2 separate regions of the Homo sapiens genome follow, and region 1 is linked to region 2. Evidence: promoter capture Hi-C in 16 types of primary human blood cells and fetal thymus (Javierre and others, 2016). All regions are on one chromosome and are shown on one strand. Each heading gives the region's core, a stretch centred on a gene start or on the middle of the fragment in contact. The rest is flanking DNA. Distances are from core to core; before and after follow the strand shown. Region 1 overlaps PSME3IP1 (proteasome activator subunit 3 interacting protein 1). Region 2 holds the start of CNOT1 (CCR4-NOT transcription complex subunit 1).

Region 1 (6,380 bases), core at 1,033-3,532, 1.4 Mb after region 2:
AAGTCTTCATGTCCTTACCCTGTGGGGAAGTGCTTCATGATATAAGAAAGGAATAATTGTGTCAAAACCATTTAGTTGATTATCAGTCTTCACTTTCATCTTCCAAGAATGGTGATGCTTGGTTAGAATCAAGCTGCTGCTTTAGCTATTGAAAACCACGTATGTGGTAAATCAAGTAACAAGTGCGATGTACGTACAGGGTCAGTCATAGTGTAATTATGCCTTTATGGCAGCTAAATTAAGCATTTTCAACGTGTTCACCATTAGTCACCTTTTGAACATACTTTGTCTTCATTCTTAAATATTATGTTTCACTCTTTACTATAGAATATGTTGTTAAGATTGTTTTGTCTAAAATCAAGTATCGACAAGTTTAAAAAAAAGATTGTTTTGTGTTTGGTTTTCTGTATTTCCACTATGCTCTATGGAACTATGGGTTTGTTTTTGTTCAATTTGTTTGGTATTTATTAGACTTCTTGAATCTGTGGATTAGTGTCTTTCATTAATTCTGTAAAATTCTCAGCCATTTTATATGCATATATTGCTTCTTCCCATTGTTTCTCTTTTTTTTTTTATCGATTTAACTAAACCTTTTCACTCTTTTCTCTATGTCTTTTACTCTGTTCTTTCGTAGTACATTCTGGATAATTTATTCTCAAGTTATTTCCATTGTTATTAAACTCGGCCTCTGAAATCTTAAATCATATATTGCAATTTTTAGTTTCTGAAGTTCTGTTTGGTTTGTGACACTTTTACAGTTTTTTATTTCTTACTATTTTGAGGCTTAATTTTATTTCTTTAAACATGGAAAGTATAGTTGTTTTTATAATCTCTATGTTTAATTCCACTGTCTGAATTCCCTTTGGGGGAGTCTGTTTCTGTTGTCCATTATTCCTGCTGTTTTACTTCCCAGTTCACCTTTACTTTGAAGCTGTAGTTCTTTTGGGCACAAGATTAAGATGGAGAGGGAGGTAGTTGTCAGACTCCACTCCCTGGATGGGCTCCTGGCTTGAACTTGTTTCTGTTATCTCATAAAGGCACTGAAACTTTAGCTTTTAGGTCAGAGAAGTCCTCAGGATGAAATCCATTTTGAATATTGGGCTTAATTTCTGGTTTTCACCTTCTAGATTGTGTCCAAATTCTTTACTATCTTGTTAGCTTTTCTATTTAAGAATTAATATTTTTGGCTGGGCGTGGTAGCTTACACTTGTAATCCCAGCACTTTGGTAGGTCGAGGTGGGCAGATCACTTGAGGTCAGGAGTTTGAGACCAGCCTGGCCAACATGGTGAAACCCTGTCTCTACTAAAAATACAAAAATTAGCCAGTCATGGTGGCGGGCACCTGCAATCCCAGCTATTCGGGAGGCAGAGGTAGGAGAATCGCTTGAACCTGGGAGGTGGAGGTTGCAATGAGCTGAGATCATGCCACTGCACTCTAGTCTGTGTGACAGAGCGAGACCCTATCTCAAAAAAAAAATTATTTTTGACAAATTTCCAGCATATTTAGTGCAGAGGTGGAGAATTGGTTTCAATTACCTAGCCCACTATTTCAAGAAATGAAAATCCCCCTGTATTCTGAAATTTGGAATGTGAAATTTGTGTGATTTCCAAGTTAAAGATGGTTATTCTTCATATACCTAAAATTTCCACCACTTTTCACTGTGCATCGTCACAGCCATTATGAAAATTAAGCTTCCCCAATGCTTATTCTAGTCTTCCTTTCTGAACTGCTTAGTGCCTCTTATGGCCTGTAACCTAGTTTTACTTTTCCTTAAATTGCTGTGTGCCAACCTTATGTCTTTTACTGAATGAGTGTAAGTTCCTCAGTTGCCTGTTTAGTACATAGCATTGTATCTTGCACATAATAGGTTCTCGGTAAATATTTGCTTCAAAAATCTTTTTTCTTTGAGATGGAGTCTCGCCCACTTCGCGCAGGCTGGAGTGCAGTGGCGCGATCTCGGCTCACTACAACCTCCGCCTCCCGGGTTCAAGCAACTCTCCTTCCTCAGCCTCCCGAGTAGCTGGGATTACAGGCATGTGCTACTACGCCTGGCTAATTTTCATATTTTTAGTAGAGACGGAGTTTCACCATGTTGGTCAGGCTGGTCTCGAACTTCTGACCTCAGGTGATCCACCTGCCTCAGTCTCCCAGAGTGCTAGGGTTACAGGCATGAGCCACTGCGCCAAAAAAAAAAAAAAAAAAAATCTTAGTTGGCCTTGTCTGGTTATTGTAATGCAAAGTTTTTTTTTTTTTTTTTTTTTTTTTAAGGGAAATGGGTATCTCCTTATGTTGCCCGGGCTGGCCTTGAACTCCTAGGCTCAAGCAGTCCTCCAGTCTCAGCCTCCTGAGTAACTGGGACTGCGTTTTTTTGTTTTATTTTGTTTTTAATTTGGTCTTGAAGTGGAGTTATATAGGGTGGGGGGAGGGAGGATGGAGTATGACTTGAGGTGTGGGTTAGGTTCTGAAGCGAGCCTAGATGACAAAATAGCTTACAAGCAAAGCTACCCTTGAAATCTCAGGGAGGCAGCATGTTAATTGTAGGAATACCAGTGTTGCAGAACTCTGACATGGCCAGTGTGATATTGTAAAATACATATTTGGCCTTCATCCCTGTCTCCTGTGGCATATGACTCCTATAATCCTTGAAATCTCCAAAATGATTAGTGTCTTTTTATATGCTAAGGAGCTGACTGATGGCTGGCAGCCCCTAAGTAACTTTAGCATGGGGGCTGGTCACTTGAAAGACCCAGGCAGGATTAGAGGGTTGGGACCTTCAACCAATGTCCAACCTCTGGGGAGAGGAGAAGGCAGACGAGCTGATGACCACCAGCGTCACTGGTTTAATTAGTCATGTCTAAGTAATGAAGCTTCCATAAAAATCCAAAAGACTGGGATTGGGGAGCTTCTGGATAGGTGGACATGAGAGGTTCCTGGATGATGGTGCCCCAGAGAGTGCATGGAAGCTCTGTGCCCTTCCCACATGCCTTGCCCTATGCATTGCTTCATCTGTATCCTTTGTAATATGCTTTTATAATAAACCAGTATATGTAAGTAAAGTGTTCCTCTAAGTTCCTCTAAGTTCTGTGAATTGGTCTAGCAAATTAATAGAACCTAAGGAGGGGGTCATGGGAACCCTGATTAATAGCCAGTTGGTTAGAACTACAGGTAAAACAACCTGATTCTTGTGGTTGGTATCTAAAATGGAGGCTAGTCTTGTGGGACTCACCCCTCAACCTATGGGATCTGACGCGGTCTCCATCCAGGTAGGTAGTGTCAGAATTGAACTGAATTAGAGGACACCCAGCTGGTTGGTGTCTGCTACAGAATTGGTTGGTTGCTTGGTGTGTGGGGACATATCCCTCACAGAATTATACTGTGTTGATTGTTGAGTGAGAGAATAGCAAAAATGCTTTGGTTTGGTTTGGGTTTTTTTTTTCTCTATATCCTCAGGCAAGTTTTATTTCGGCTTTGGAAAAAACTGCTGTTTTTCTTCCTGTGAGCCCCAGATGAAGTTGTTGGTTTGTATTTAGGAGTCACAATATGTAAAAAATACAATGAATACAATCATTCATGCATAGTGAGGGAAGTATTTATATTCAGAGAGGTGCATGTGAATGAGGATCAGCTAAGGGAACCGATATTTAAATTAGTTATCTTTCTTCTAGTGTGTATAGGTGAATTCAAGATAAATGCACATTTGAGACCCTGCCCTTGTGCTATGGAAAGATAAATAAATCAATACTTTTTTTTTAACTTCTTTTTTTTCCCCCTCGCCAGGCAAGGTCGGTCTTGTGCTGTTGCCCAGGCTGTAGTGCAATGGCCCTCATAGCTCACTGTAGCCTGGAACTCCTTGGCTGAAGCCTTCCTCCCACTTCAGCCTCCTAAGTAGTGCACCATCACACCTGGCTAATTTTTAAATATTTTTGTAGAGAGAGAGTCTCACTGTGTTGCCCAGGCTGGTCTTAAATTCCTGGCCTTAAGTGATGCTCCCAGCTTGGCCTCCCACAGCTTTGGGACTGCAGGCATGAGCCACTGTGCCTAGCCTGTTTGTCTGTTTGTTTGTTTGTTTGTTTTTAATAGAGTTGGGGTCTCACCATCTTGCCCAGGCAGGTCTTGAACTCCTGGGCTCAAACAATCCTGCCTTGGCCTCCCAAAGTGCTCAGATTGCAGGTGTGAGCTAGTGCACCAGGCCTTAATTTCTTTTCTTTTTTTTTTTTCTTTTTCTGAGACGGAGTCTTGCTCTATTGCCCAGGCTGGAGTGCAGCGGCGTGAAATCTCAGTTCACTGCAACCTTCGCCTCCTGGGTTCAAGCGATTCTCCTGCCTCAGCCTCCCAGGTAGCTGGCATTACAGGCACATGTCACCACAGCCAGCTAATTTTTGTATTTTTAGTAGAAATGGGGTTTCACCCTGTTGGCCAGGCTGGTCTTGAACTCCTGACCTCAAGCGATCCTCCTGCCTCAGCCTCCCAAAGTGCTAGGATTACAGGTGTGAGCCACCATGCCTGGCTGAATTTCTTATTGTATGTGTTTCATAGATGCCTGAAAGATTATTGCAAAGCTGAATTTTTTATTGTATGTGTTTCATAGATGCCTGAAAGGTTATTGCAAATTGCTCCTTATGATAAACATTTAAAATATGGATTAAATTTCTTTTTCTGTGGTTTAGTTTTTAGATTCTTTTAGTCTCCTTTGCTACCGGAATATGTTAATTAAGCTTTGGTGTTAGAAGATTGACTTCACTTTGCCTAGTAATAAATACTAACAGCGGGCTCTCTGTTAGTAGTTGTTGTTCTCTAAATAAATTTTATGATATAGGAAAAGTCAGCTAAATTTTTAAAAATCTAAATAACTGTATCTTGGTAGAAGTGCCTTCTGGCCAGAAATAAGTCTTTATTTGAAATATAGATGAGTTAGCCAGATGGCAAATTCCTCTTAGTTGCTGTCCTGCATTTTGAAGTACAGTGTGACTTGAACATCAGAGTAAAAAATGTTGGAAAGCAATAATCTATATTTACTCACAAAAGGAAATGGATTGACCTATTGCTTTTGCTACTGAAAGTGAAGCCTTAAAACAACAGAACACAGAAACCTGATTCTGGTGTGTTTTAACATGTACAATCTAATTAATTTTAGAATTAGAAGGATATGGTGGCCAGTGATGTAAACACTCAAGTAGTTTGCCATCACATAATTCAATTCCATAGGAAACCAGATCTCATTACTTTGTGTCATGGCACTAGCTAAATGGAGTCATTTTTCAAGTTAGGAATAGCAATTATTTGGGGAGCAACAATGTAAGTTTTGTATTTTAAAACATGTGTAGTGTGCTATGTAAGAACTGAGCCCATTTTGTCCCACCACCCTGGAAATTAAATGGGACGGTCTCCAATGTAAACCCAGTAGTTCAGTGTTACCAGTTACTTTGGCTTGAAATATAAGAACTTTGTTTTCTTGACGGTCAGGCAGATTTGAAAACCACGTTCTTTATTTGTGCCAATTTGGACTCTAAGTTTGGTGGACAAAGTGAATTTTGAAATGGTTTTAGTTTTCCATGAATTCCCTATTTGAAGAAATTGAATAAATCCTTTAAAAAATAATGTAATGTTTAGTTTGATAATTAAACTTGAGTCACTTTGGAAAACGTGAGTAAAGGAAAGCTGACAGCATTTGTTTACTCTTTCTAAAGTGGAACACAGTAAGGACAAAGTAAGCATTCCTAATGTAAGTCCTCTGCATTCCTACAGGGCTCTTCACAGTTAGAGCCCGTATCCCTGATATCCCTGGGCTGTTTGTCTTTTGATTTGTTTTTAATTACCCTAGCAAACAAAAGGGAAAAAGAAGAGACTTGTGAAAATTTACCTAGACAATAGGAATTAGAAGTCAACACAATCTAATTTTCTAGCTTCTTTGTCTACTTCCAGCAGGTCAGTAAGTTACAGGTACTTATCACCTCTTTCTTGCAGAATAAACAGCCATTGGACTCTTCAAACAAAAACGCTGTCTCCATCAAGTACTGCTTTCGCAGGATAAGTGACCATTTTTAATCAGTTGAAATTAACGGAAAGTAGCAGTTATTTTTGAAAGATGACATCAATTATATAATATAGTAAAGAGATTTAATTTTTAGTCCTTTGTTTCTTACTGCACAAATTGTATGGCGTTTGAATAGAATTCCCATGATACTGACACTTCAGCAAATACTTGCTTGATGGCTACCAATCTCTATAACTTACATTGCACAGTACCTAGGAATATTCATGTGAGTTCATTCCTCCCTGCTCAGATTCTTCAGCTCCTCGTGGTTGGTTTATTCAGTAAGTATTTGAATACCTAATATATGCCAGACACTGTGCTAATAATAATAAGCACTGTGGAGAC
Region 2 (6,200 bases), core at 3,697-6,196:
AAATTCAAATGTGTATCAAGTAACCTACAGTACCCCTTCCAGTTTGTAAATTTCCTGTGAGTCTTTCAGCTTTTTAGTAAGGATAGAAGCCACCTAGGATTCTGACAGACGGTTGAAGGACTTTGATCTCTAGGCCATTGTGCAAATCTTGCAGGTACTTAGCTCAGGCTCCATGACAAGTCAAATCCTAGAAGTGGTGTTGTAACTCCAGGGGAGGGGTTGGCAGTGGGCACAAGGGTCTCCTGGAGCAGTCTCAGTTGAAAGCAGCAAACCATTTTCCCGGCAAAGACAGGTGGAAGTAGAAAAAGGCAATTCGGCTTTATTTTACCTTATCTTTATTTTTGGAGATCTATGTTTGAGACCAGAACTAGCTGTAGAATTACAGAGTTGACCTTAGATAGCTGACCTCTGTGGGTATCACCTACTGTCTTTAAAAAAAAAAAAAATCTTAAGGTGGGGTGTGGTGGTTCACACCTGTAACCCCAGCACTTTGGGATGCCTAGGTGTGGGGAATCACTTGAGGCCAGGAGTTGGAGACCAGACTGAGTGAGATCTCATCTCTACAAAAAGAGTTTTTAATTCATTTAAAAAAGTATTTAAAATTATACAAATAAAACATAAATACATACTCTTTGTAAAATGTTCAAATAGTGGGCAGGTGCAGTGGCTCACGCCTATAATCCCAGCACTTTGGGAGGCCGAGGCACGTGGATCGCCTGAGGTCAGGAGTTCAAGACCAGCCTGGCCAACATGGTAAAACCCCGTCTCTACTAAAAATACAAAAAATTAGCTAGGCATGATGGCAGGTACCTGTAATCCCAGCTGCTCGGGTGGCTGAGGCAGGAGAATCGCTTGTAACTGGGAGGCAGAGGTTGTAGTGAGTCAAGACCATGCCATTGTACTCCAGCTTGGGCAAAAAAAGAAAAGAAAAAAAAAAGAAAAAAAGAAAAAAAAAGTAGTCTATAGAATAAAAAGCCCAAGTTTCCTTTTACCCTTCCTCATTCCCACTCCTCTCCCTACAGACAAACATTGGTGTTAGTTGGGGGGGAGAAGTATATCTTTTCAAATGTTTTGATGCATTTAGTTATATATAAATATAGATATAGTTATTTTCTTCCACACAAATGGTAACATAATGATTATATATTTTTTCTTTCCTTCATCTAACTTTCTAATTTAGCAATAAATCTTAGAACCATTCCATATAAGCAAATGTAGACTTACCTCATTTTTAAATTATTATTATTTTTTTAGACTGATTTTTGTATTTTTGTATTTTAGAGACAGGGTTTCACCATGCTGGCCAGGCTGCTCTCGAACTCCAGACCTCAGGCGATCCACCCGCTTCGGCCTCCCAAAGTGCTGGGATTACAAGTGTGAGCCACTGTACCCGGCCAACTTACCTCATTTAAAAAAAAAAAAGAGGCTGGGCATGGTGGCTGATGCCTGTAATCCCATCACTTTGGGAGGCCGAGGTGGGCAGATCACGAGGTCAGGAGATTGAGACCATTCTGGCTAACACAGAGAAACCCCGTCTCTACTAAAAATACAAAAAATTAGCCAGGCGTGGTGGCGGGCGCCTGTAGTCCCAGCTACTTGGGAGGCTGAGGCAGGAGAATGGCACGAACCCGGCAGGCAGAGCTTGCAGTGAGCCAAGATCATGCCACTGCACTCCAGCCTGGGTGACAGAGTGAGACTCCGTCTAAAAAAAAATTCATAATATTTCATTAAAAAGTACGATATTTATTTATTTATTTATTTATTTATTTATTTTTGAGTCACAGTCTCACTCTGTCACCCAGGCTTGAGTGTAGTGGTGCGATCTACGCTCACTGCAACTTCTGTCTCCCGGGTTCAAGTGATTCTCTTGCCTCAGCCTCCCGAATAGCTGGGATTACAGGCGCCTGCCACCACACCTGGCTAATTTTTGTATTTTTAGTAGAGATGGGGTCTGGCCCAAAGTACCATACATTTTATTATTGTTTCCAATCTTTTGGGTCCCCATAAACAACGCTTCCATGTATATCTGTATGCACTCTGCACACATTTGCAATGTTCATCTGTGGAGTAAATTCTTAGACATGGAATTACTGGGTCAGTGGGGTCGGCATTTTCACTTTTGATAAACTCGGCCAAAATGCTGCTCTACATAGGGGTTTTGGTAACTTTTACTAGCAACCGTGCAGGGAAGGGCCTTATTCCTCATCCTTGTTCTGTTTAGGGGGCCTTTTACTTCTAAGATTACAATGTTGTAAGTCGATTTCTCCCTTTAGTACCCTGCAAGGCCTATTTGCACATATGCCTACCATGTGCCAGACACAATACTAGGTGCTGAGAATACAGCTGTGAACAAGACGGAAGTGATCCTTCTTCTTACTATATGTGGGGTCCCTGGCTCTTGCACAGTTCTGCTCTTGCACAGTTGCTTGAAAGCACAAGGGACTCAGTAAATGTAGGCTGAAAGACCTGGCCTCCAACTAAGGAAAGGGAGGTGTCGAAAAGTATTTTTAGGCTGGGCTTGGTGGCTCATGCCTGTAATCCCAGCACTTTGGGAGGCTGAGGCGGGTGGATTACCTGAGGTCAGGAGTTCAATACCAGCCTGACCAACATGGTGAAACCCTGTGTCTACTAAAAATACAAAAATTAGCTGGGTGTGGTGGCACGTGCCTGCAATCTCAGGTACCTGGGAGGCTGAGGCAGGAGTCTTGCTTGAACTGGGGAGGCCGGAGGTTGCAGTGAGCTGAGATTGCACCATTGCACTCCAGCCTGGGCAACAAGAGCAAAACTCCGTCTCAAAAAAAAAAAAAAAAAAAAAAAAAAAAAAAAAAAAAAAGATGTGTTTTTAGGACATATGCTCAGTTAACTAGGCCAGTCACAAAAAGACAAATACTGCATGATTCCACTTATATGAGGTATCTAAAGTAATCAAACTCAGGAACATAAAGAAGAATAGTGATTGTCAGGGACTAGGGGGAGGGGGAAATGGAAGGTGTTAAACAACAGATGTAGTTTCAGTTTTGCAAGATGAAAAAGTTCTAGAGATCTGTTGTACAACAATATGCATATAGTTAACACTACTGTATTCTACACTTAAAAATGATTAAGATGGTAAATTTCATGTGTTTCTTACCATAATTTTTTTTAAGTATTTTTTTGGGCACGAGAGGTAATATGAGAGAGATGGCCAGAAGACCACCTACTGAGCCTAGTCTGAGGACAGGGGTGAGCACAGGGATAGGTTTGAATTTCTTTTTCTTTTCTTTTTTTTTTTTGGAGACGGAGTCTCGCTCAGTCGCCCAGGCTGGAGTCAAGCGGCGCGATCTCGGCTCACTGCGACCTCTGCCTCCCGGGTTCACGCCATTCTCCTGCCTCAGCCTCCCGAGTAGCTGGGACTACAGGCGCCCGCCACTACGCCCGGTTAATTTTTCTGTATTTTTAGTAGAGACGGGGTTTCACCGTGTTAGCCGGAATGGTCTCCATCTCCTGACCTCGTGATCCGCCCGCCTCGGCCTCCCAAAGTGCTGGGATTGCAGGCGTGATCCGCAGCGCCCTGCCTTTTTTTTTTTTTTTTTTTTTTTGAGACAGAGTTTTGCTCTGTCGCTCAGGCTGGAGTGCAGTGGCGCGATCTCTGCTCACTGCAACCCACGCCTCCCGGGTTCAAGCGATTCTCCTGCCTCAGCCTCCTAAGTAGCTGGGATTACAGGTGTGCGCCACCACGCCCGGCTAATTTTTTGTATCTTAGTAGAGATGGGGTTTCACCGTGTTAGCCAGGATGGTCTCGATCACCTGACGTCGTGATCCACCCGCCTCAGCCTCCCAAAGAGCTGGTATTACAAGCGTGAGCCACCGCGCCCGGCCTTAATTTCAAAAGGTAATAGAGCTAACCAGTCAACACTTCCTTCCCAATCCTTTCTCTTTTGGGTACAGGTGAGTATAAAATCTTACCAACTATCATAGTTAACAAACAAACCATAGCAAAATATGTTTCTATGCTTTTTCTCTTGAGAGCAAAGGACATGGGTATCCTTTCTTAGACGGCTTCTAGGACTTAAGCCAGGAAGAGAACTTGCGTCTCCTACGTCTCTGGAAGGCGTCTCTGGAAGGTGTCCCTTCTTCAATAGACAGAACTAAAACAGAAAGTTCCCTTGACCAAAGCGAAGCAAGCGAGGACAAGGTGGCCACCTGGGTGACTACAACCCCCAGCATGCACTGCTCCTTCTAGGGCGCAGCGACGAACGAAGACGCATTACTTCTGCGATGGGAACGGGGTAGAGGAGCGCGACTACACATCCCAGGATGCAAAGCGCCCCAACTCTAGTCACAACCTGGCTTGCTTTCTGGCTGGCGTTCCCCGCCAAAGGGACACTAGGGGAGGGGATTGTTTCGGTTGGGAATCCCCGAAGTCTACTGGACCGTGACATTTCGAAAGAGGAAGGAAAGTGGAGGAAAGCTGTTTCACTGTAATTCAAAGTAGTTCCCGCGCAGGGTGGCGAGGAGTTATGGGCCCCTTCCATAATTTATTGTTCCTCAAAGGCAATGCCAAGCCCCACTGGTCGCAGCCCTCCAGGGCAGGTGGGAAGTACGTGAAGCCCCAAATCGAAGTTATCAGCCTCTCCCTATTGGCCCTCGCCTCGAGCGCAGGCGCGAGGGCTCTGACTCCGGTCCCCTGGGCCTGGTGAGCGGCAATTGGCCAAAGTCCGCGAAGTAGGAGGCCGGATTGGTAGTTGCTAGCAGGAGCCTGATTTCTTCCTCGACTTCTGCAAGTGATAGAGTGTGATTGGTTTAAATCCGCGGGCACCTGTCGGTGATTGGGTAGAAGCCACAGGCGGGGCGCGGCCATTGGCTGGCTCTGGGGCCATCCCTCCTCGGGCGGGCAGCGAATGATGAAATGGGAACGGGGAGGGGAAAGGCCGCGACGTGAGCGCGCGACCTCCGGCGCCATTTTGTAGAGAAACAAGCGGAGTTAACCGAAGAGGGGGTCGAGGAGAGCCGGAGTCGGGGACCCAGGAGTTTCCTGTGTCCAGCGCTGCCGGAGCCGCCTGAGGTGAGGCGGGTTGGCGTCAGGGGCTAGGGTAGGGTGGCGGTGTCAGCTTGGGAACGCGAGAGCCGGTGGGAGGAGGAACAGGGGTGGACCTGGGGCCACTGGAAGCGTTTCCCGGAGCTCTAGGGAGTGAGAGGCAGCCGGGACGGGGAAGTGGGACGAGGCGGGAGAGGGCGGACTCTTCTCCACACGGCTCTCGGAGGCTTCGCGCTCTGAAGATGAGAGGCCAGCGAGAAGGCTCCAGGAAGCGGAGGGTAGAGCGCGGGGTGAGACCCATGGTGGTCTCTGTCCCGGGCCTGGAGGCTCAGGGGGCGGCAGCGGCGGCAGTTCGTGTCGCTGGGCCTGGCTTCGCGCGGGTTGCACCCCTCTGAGACCTCCACGACCTCCTTAACTACTGTTTCTGTCTCTGCTCCCTGATGGTTGCAGTGGGCATCGGCTTCCGAGGCCTAGGGCTTCTGGCGGGGGGGACCGTGTTTGGAGTTTTTGCATGTTTCCAGTTCTTCTCCGTGTACTCGGAGCTGCCACTCTCCCCGTCTTACGCCCCCAGCACGTTGTCAAAGCCCCCCAGGTTTCGGGTGTCCCCGGATGGGAAGGGCGGGCGGGAGCAAGCACTTCCTTATTACTTGCTACAGGTTTTGTTCCACTCGCGCGCCTGGGCGCTCACACTTTCTTTGAAGTTGGCCCCCACCTACTCGGTCCGGTGTCTGCAGTAGTGGCGGTCCTGCTCACCCAGGACAAGTGTCCCGCTAGTGAGCTGAGCACTTGTAGGCCTCAAGGCTGATAAGATCCACGGCAGGTCTTGTAGAGGTACTTAAGGCCAAACACAAATAATACTTTTTCAGTACCACCTCCTTTGCAGAATTCACCCAAGAGGGCTCACAGATACTAACTCCCCGAGGAGTAAGCTTTGTAGATTAAAAAAGAATGCTTGACATCTGTGCGTTTGAAAATGTTGTATTTAAAATAAACTTTATGACAAACTTTTCCCATGAAGTTAATCAAATGTCACATTTCTTAGGACTCTAATAAAGTCTGTTTTCTTCCTGAAAACTGAGTAACAATGCTTAACCTACCCTGCCGATTTCTCTACAATTCGATAGCCTGTGACTACTTGGGTTTTTTTTTTTTTTTAAGTCAGTGATTGAGTGAATATAATTAT

What was found. The method cuts DNA at HindIII sites, captures the fragments that hold promoters and counts their contacts. A CHiCAGO score of 5 or more calls a contact.
Region 1: a contact is called between a fragment that was not itself captured here and the fragment with the promoter of CNOT1 in region 2, in 1 of 17 cell types (fetal thymus). The highest score is 5.4, in fetal thymus.

The regions. Positions count from the first base shown.
Region 1 is chr16:57,178,438-57,184,817 of GRCh38, reverse strand. The region is part of intron 1 of PSME3IP1 (proteasome activator subunit 3 interacting protein 1); the gene reads left to right. Among named protein-coding and RNA genes, the nearest start is that of PSME3IP1, 4.4 kb to the left of the region's middle. RefSeq lists an enhancer at 5,617-6,198. The HindIII fragment of the contact is 1,176 bases long and covers 1,695-2,870 here.
Region 2 is chr16:58,628,572-58,634,771 of GRCh38, reverse strand. It overlaps CNOT1 (CCR4-NOT transcription complex subunit 1), which reads left to right and starts at 4,946. Exons shown (of 49, transcript NM_016284.5): 1 at 4,946-5,044. RefSeq lists enhancers at 4,079-4,568, 4,859-5,068, 4,517-5,192, 5,193-5,869. The HindIII fragment of the contact is 12,291 bases long and covers 1-5,948 here.